Linked DNA regions of Homo sapiens: region 1 is linked to region 2. The links are contacts of gene promoters, found by promoter capture Hi-C in blood cells and fetal thymus (Javierre and others, 2016). All regions are on one chromosome and are shown on one strand. The core of a region is centred on a gene start or on the middle of the fragment in contact, and the rest is flanking DNA. Distances in the headings are between cores, read along the strand shown.

Region 1 (3,221 bases), core at 722-3,221, 2.0 Mb before region 2:
TCACTACGTTGGCCAGGCTTGTCTAGAACTCCTGACCTTGTAATCCAACTGCCTCGGCCTCCCAAAGTGCTGGGATTACAGGCATGAGCCACTGCACCCAGCTGAGATCTGATAGTTTTATAAAGGGGAGTTCCCCTGCACATGCTCTCTTCTTGCCTGCTGCCATGTAAGACATGCCTTTCTTCTCTTTTGCCTTCTGCAGTGATTGTGAGGCTTCCCCAGCCAACTGAAACTGTGAGTCCATTAAACCTCTTTTTCTTTATAAATTATCATGTCTTGGGTATGTCTTTATTAGCAGTGTGAGAACAGACTACCACAGTAGCCAAACTTTATATGGTGGCTCAGGGCTCCAAACATTAGTGTTCTACTGGTGGGCAGTGGGGGAGTGGGTGGGGGGTGTGGAAGTGGAGAAGTGGGTGTGGTGGTGGGGAAGCAAAACCTGCATCCTATTTATGACTTAACCTTGGAAACATCATTTCTGTCATACTTTATTGGCCAAAGCAGACCTACAACTACCCAGATTCAAGTTGGTGGGGGCGGGGGGGGGTGCTTTGATGGAGGAATATCAAGATCACGTTGCAGACAAACATGTGTGAAGGACTCTATTGTTGCAGCCATCCTTGAAAAATATTATCTGCCATATGGTCTTTCTAAAATGGGTTAAAAGCAAAGAAACCACAGAAGAATCATCTTACAGAAACAGAGCAGGGGGAGAAGTCTTAATGGACAAATAATCTGCCTACACAAACAATGAGCAATTTACTTCTGGGAGGATCTCTCCTCAGGCAGGGAGATTGCCAAGCGCATTAGGCTGAGTAGAGTTGGTGACAGAACTCATAGTTGTATCAGCTCCTCTGTGTGTGATCTGAGTAGGAAAGTATTTGACTACTGGGGACTCTAGCTTCATCTTTAAAACAAAGTGTTGTGAGAACCAAGTAAAATACTGTATAGAAAGATAAATGTGTTGCAAAAAGGTCCCCGAATAGAGCCCACAGGTGGACACCCCCCGTTTGACAATGCCACTGGGAAAGACCATGTGTACTGCCAGTTTATCCTTGCCACTGTTTCCCCATAGCAGCCACCTTCCTGTTTCTTTTGCTTGCCTCTCTCAGAGGTAGATGCATTGAGGGTAAATGACCAGGACAGGGCCACACAGCCAAGAGATCAAAACCCAGATTTTTCTGGGATGCTAGTTTGAGATTTTCCATTCTACAAACGTCCAGCCACTCACGAGTTCTAACAGATGACTGATCTTAGCTGAGAAGCATGACATAGATACAAGGGAGTCACACTGCCCGGGTTCATATCCCAGCTGCACCGCTTACTAGCAGTGTGACCTTTGGAAGGATCGCTGTTTTCCCAGGTGTAAAACGGAAATAAGACCTCCCACAAAGGGGTAAGTAATCACGTGATACGGCACTCAAAACAGCGCCTTCAACATAAGTAAGCCCTTTGTGTTTGCCAAGACTAAATCACTACTGCATAGTTAGTATATAATTGGTGCTAAATGTTTTTTTCTCACTTTTTTTTTTGGTGCTAAATGTTTTAAGGTGAGAAAGTAACATTTAGGGATGTAATGAGATGTAATGGTGGGATCTCCGTGAAACGACAAATTCATTTTGGAGAAAGCTTTTTAAAAAACGCAAACCACAAACCTCTGCCATTTGTCAGCTTGAAGTCTACGGAACTGCAAGCAAAATAAAGATTGGTGAAACTTTGCTTCTGACTGACCCCTACAGTCCCAAATATTTTCTTGGCCTTTACAAAGCCCGCAGGCATCGTCACATGCAGTCCTGAAAAGCCTTTTCTCTATACTTCACACAGCCCAGACCAGCCCACGTGGATTCCTCGCCCGGCTGCTTCCGCTTCCATTTTGTCCCCTCCTATTTCTCATTCGGCGCCTCAGAATGACGTCTGAAATGAGCGCCGACGCTGCCCAAACAGGAGCCTGCGCATGCGCTCTGCCCTGGCAGCGGCCCTGTGCAGATCCCTGAGCGTGTGGCAGCAGTGCGGTCGTGGTCCCTCCCTATGCAGCCTGGTTTCTAGCGTGACACGCCCTTGACTTGAGGACCATGAACCGCAGCCGCCAGGTGACGTGCGTGGCCTGGGTCCGCTGCGGCGTGGCCAAAGAGACACCAGACAAGGTGAGGCCTGGTCGCTGGGAGACAAGGGGAGCAGCGTCTTTACGGCACTGGGGGTCCGCCCAGCTGGGGGAACGTGGACCCGGAACTCGGGGCGTTGGCTGGTGCGACTGGCTGGGGTGAGGGCGGCTTTGCCCGGATTGTCGCGACTAGAGCTGCAGTTCAGAAGGTCTGGTTCGCCTGAGCCTGGAGAGTCAAGGGCCGCGCCTTCTCACTGTTCCCACCCTCAAGCCCAACCCCACTCCCAAATTCGCACGCACATGGACTTAGCGGGCCGGAAAGGGGTGGGCTGCTGTTTTTGGTGGGTAATACCCCAAAAGGCTTTTTGACAACACCACTAGCTTCACTAGCACCCAAGTGCATTTTCAAGCATAACTGGGAAGAGAGCATGAAAACTCCACTTTCCACTCTTGTGCTCCGTGTCTGAAGGAGTGAGGATGAATGTGGTGTAGAAAAACTGGTGTGGAGGCTAAGATGTCGTGAGGCTGGGAGATGAATAGGGAATTTCTTGCAGTAATCCAAGTGAGATGTTGATGGTAGCAGGGAGGATGAGAGGTAAATGTCTAACACATGAAAAACCTACAAGAGTTGGAGACTGAGACTGTAGCAGAGGTGACGATTACTTAAGTAATTTCCTCATTGGATACTAAGTGCTTTCTGTAGGCCAGGCATTGTTCAGGGTCCTGGGATAGGCATGAACAAAATAGAAAAAGTCCCGCCGGGCGCGGTGGCTCACGCCTGTAATCCCAGCACTTTGGGAGGCCAAGGCGGGCGGATCACGAGGTCAGGAGATCGAGAGCATCCTGGCTAACACGGTGAAACCCCGTCTCTACTAAAAATACAAAAAATTAGCCGGGTGTGGTGGTGGATGCCTGTAGTCCCAGCTACTCGGGAGGCTGAGGCAGGAGAATGGCGTGAACCCGGGAGGCGGAGCTTGCAGTGAGCCGAGATCGCACAGCTGCACTCCAGCCTGGGCGGGCAACAGAGTGAGACTCCGTCTCAAAAAAAAAAAAAAAAAAAAAAAAAAAAAAATAGAAAAAGACCCTGCCTTTATGGAGTCGACATGTGCACATATAGTAT
Region 2 (3,750 bases), core at 723-3,222:
TGCGAGGGTAAAAGGAGTTATGTGAGATAAATAGCAGTGAGCCCATGCCTGACACACAGTAGGTGTGAAGTCATGGTGACCTACAATGAAAAAAATCCCAAACTTTTGACAGGCTGTGGTGCGAACTGCTGCCTTCTTCTCCTCTTCGCGATCTCTCTCATTTCCCAGGGTTTGCTTGTTACTGTCCCTCGCCCTGTCCTCAGCTGAAGTCTGGTCTCCCCACCTGTCCACACGCTGGGTCCACCCATCCAGTCGCCCCGGCCGCCCTCCCTGACGTCCCCGCAGCCCTGGCTGCTGGCCCGAGCGGGAAGCAGCTGGAGGCATAACACATTTCCAGGTAAATCCCCACCCCCACCTTCAGCCTGGGGAGGGAAGGGGAGGAGATGGGGGCGGCCGCGGAGAAATAGAGCGGAGCTGCTGGGAACAGCGCGCCGAGCAGCCGCTTAGAGGCCTGAAACAGGGCCAGCTCCTGTCCTAGATAAGGCGGCGGGTGACCCACTTGGGCCGGCCCTGGAGGTCCGCCGCGGGCGCCTCTCCCGGCGGGGTGGGTTGGCTCCTGGAAGTAGGCTAGGGCCCGTCTATAATCAGCCCGTCCGCTGGATACGCTCCCCAGGGTCTCCAAAGCCCTCCAGCCCGGGTGAGTACAGAGGGCATTTATTGAGCACTTAATGTGTGTTTTGAGTCCTTTACATGCAAGAATTCATTTTGCCCTCAAATCTACGCTGTAAGGTAGGAATTATGATGCCCCCCATTTCACAGACAAGAAACTGAGGCGCAGACCCGTGAAGGTAAATGGCCAAGACCAACAACCAGCAAGGGCAGGGCTGCAATCCCACCCAGTTTCGGTGGGACTCCAGGTATCACACGGGCATAGCCTGAGGGGTGGGGGGTCTGACTGCTGCTCTGCATTTCTGTGGGGATCTTTGTTATTATCCCGGAAAGCTGGCTTCCTACAGTGCTGTGTGATGGACACACAGCAACTGAGGGAACTGCCCCACCCAGGACTCAATTTCCCCATCTGTAAATGAGACTGCTAGACGGGCCGCCCATGGGCTGTGAGAACCCAGGAAGCTTCTTTAAAAGTAAAAGGGAAAGCACAGTATAGTTTGATAGATTCATATTTGAACCCCAGGTTGATGTGAAACTATGCCTCAGTTTCCCTATCTATTAAGTGGGGGAGTAGGCTAGTGCCTGTCTCCTGTGGGCGTGGGGTACGTCTAGAAGGTGTAGCTTGCAAATTGCTCAGCGCTGTGCTGGGTTATATAGTTAGCGCTCCACAGATCACAACTGTGATGCCAAAAACACATCGCTGCCAAAAATAAGCCTTAGGACAAAAACATCCAGGACCATGTCACTTCACATCTCCTTACCTCAGTTTCCTCTGTAAGTTGGAAGTATAATAATAGTACCTACCGTATCAGTTTTCTCATCTGTAAAATGGGGGTGATAGTAATACCCACTCACACGGTGTTGTGAGGATTAGATAAAATACTTTGCTACATAAGTGTTAGCTATAGTTGTTATTTTTAACAAATTCCTCATGAGGTTGGTTTTTGCCAAGATTAAATGAAATAATGCCGATAATGCACTTATACAGTGCCTTGTCCCAAATATGTGATCAGTAAATGACACTGGTTTTGCCACCCCTAGTGGGACTACAAAAACCAGCACGCCCTGCGCCCCCAGTCGGGGCCCCTCCACCCGGCGCCGGCGCGCAGCATGCCGGGAGTTGCAGTCCTCGCGAGGCAAGTTCCGCCTCGTCCCTGCTTGGGGGAGGAGGTTGGAGAGCCGCCCTGCCGGCCTTTGAATTTTGCCGCGAAAAGCGCGCGTGGCGGCCCCCGGCTCCGCCCCTCGCAGGACGCGGTGCCGCGTCACCCTGGTAACCGCCTCTCAGCCGCCGCTGATTGGGCTGGGCCGCGGGGGGCGGGCGGGGGACGAGACGCGGGGGCTGCTGCCGGCGCTCGCGCCTGTCAGTCGGGCCAGAGCGGAGCAGCGGGCAGGACTGCCTGGCCGGCTGCTCCGCGGAGAGGCTGCGCGCGCCGGCCGGGGGAGGCGGACAGCCGGGCCCGGCGCCTGTGGGGCGCGGCGCGCGGCACCCGGGCCTGAGACCAGGCGAGGCGCCGGCGCGCGCCAGACGGCGCGAGGCTGCGGCCCCGGGAGCCCCCGCGCGCCGCCCGGGGCCATGGGCGCGTGAGAGCCCAGCGCGCGCGGCCCCTGCTGCGGCTTGCGAGCTCGCACACCCGGTGCACAGTCCCCCGGGCCGTCCTCGTGTCCGTCCTGCGCCACTGGGATCGGCTGTTTCTCAGCGCCGAGGCCCCCGAGGCTGCATCCGAGCTTGCGTCGCCCGCTGCCGCCGCCGCCGCCGCTGCCGCCGCCGCTGTTCGCCGGCTTCCCCTCCCCCCACACCCGGGGCTCAGAGCAGGAGGAGGAGGGGCCGGTGCATTCTCGCCGCTGTTCTTTGCAACCTGCAGGGGCCGGTGTATGTCCGGCGAGGAGCCGGGGCCGCTGCGGGTGCGTGCAACCCCCGAAGGAGACAATCCCTCCACCTCGGGGCGAACCCGGGGGCTGCAAGCCGCGGGCGGGCGGGCGAGCGAGAGGAAGCAACAAAGACAGGCTGCAGCTGGGGCTGGCGAAAGGGGCCGCGGCCGCCGGGCTCCCAGCGCGGGCGGAGAGGGCGCCCTGGGAGCGGCGCGGGCCGAGCTGCAGCCTTGAGCGGGGCCCCGAGGGGAGGCGCAGCGCCGCCCGCCGGACGTGGCGATCACGGGCCCCGGCGAAGATGCGTCGCCTGAGCGCCCGCGCGGCCCCCGTCCGGGGCGGGCGTGACCCCTGCTGAACGGAGACCTCCCCTCCCCCCCGACTTCGGACGGCGCAGGCCGGCGCCAGGATAGCCCTCACCGACAGCGCCCCTTCCCACCCGGAGAGAGGCATCGACCCCCAAGGAGGGCTTCGTCAGGCAGCCTCTGCCACTCCTGCATGGCTGCGACCCGTCGAGCGGAGCGTCGTGGTAGCTGAGACCTGGTGCCCTTCGACGGCCTGGCTGATCCGGTGAGTTGTGCGGGGCGGGGTTCTGCGCTGGAGCTGGGGGCACCCCCTGGCGTCCGGGCAGCCAGGATTGGACAGAAGGGGTCCTAGGCTGTTGGGGGTCCTGAAGCAGAGATAACCCTTGTCCGCCCCTTTCCTCCCTCCAAACACAACTTGTTCAGATGGGCCAGCCGATGGGAGTGGAGGTTGGGGGGCCCATTCGGATTCCGCGGGACCCTGGGCGGGTTGGTTGCCAGAGAGGAAAGGTCACCCCACCCGTAAAGCTAACAAAGGTATTGGCTGTGTCATCCGAAAATTCCCCGGGAACTCCAGTGTCTTGGAAGGGCTGGGGGGTGGGGGGCACCCAGGATGGGAAAACGTTGAGGGTCTCCCGAGCAGCCTCTGAGATCTTCAAGGGAAATCACCTCAGAGGGGGATTTGGGGTTCCAGAAACGCAGGTGGCCACGTTTGAGAATTGTGCCCCATGGGGCTAGACCTTAGAGCCCTCGTTCAAACCACGTTCCCACAAATAACTCGCAGGGACGGTAGGTTCCCCAGTGGGGGCACGACATGACGTCAAACCTTAGCCTCTGATGTCACTGGGGTTGCCGTGGCAACACCACTTGCCTTGACCCAAGGCCGGAGGGGGCGGGGTCGTGGTAACAAGGGGCGGGGCTGGATGCCTTTGGGTAGTGGAGGGGTGAAGGCGGACTCCCCCCACCCCTACCA

What was found. The method cuts DNA at HindIII sites, captures the fragments that hold promoters and counts their contacts. A CHiCAGO score of 5 or more calls a contact.
Region 1: the fragment with the promoter of PWP1 here is called in contact with the fragment with the promoter of FAM222A in region 2 in 1 of 17 cell types (naive CD4 T cells); the score reaches 6.1 in naive CD4 T cells.

What each region holds. Positions count from the first base shown.
Region 1 is chr12:107,683,828-107,687,048 of GRCh38, forward strand. PWP1 (PWP1 homolog, endonuclein) reads left to right here and starts at 1,972. Exons shown (of 15, transcript NM_007062.3): 1 at 1,972-2,144. The coding sequence starts at 2,073. RefSeq lists enhancers at 1,781-2,040, 2,261-2,310. The HindIII fragment of the contact is 3,419 bases long and covers 1,628-3,221 here.
Region 2 is chr12:109,711,853-109,715,602 of GRCh38, forward strand. It overlaps FAM222A (family with sequence similarity 222 member A), which reads left to right and starts at 1,973. Exons shown (of 3, transcript NM_032829.3): 1 at 1,973-3,045. RefSeq lists an enhancer at 435-998 and silencers at 1,704-2,033, 2,064-2,113. The HindIII fragment of the contact is 3,633 bases long and covers 1,070-3,750 here.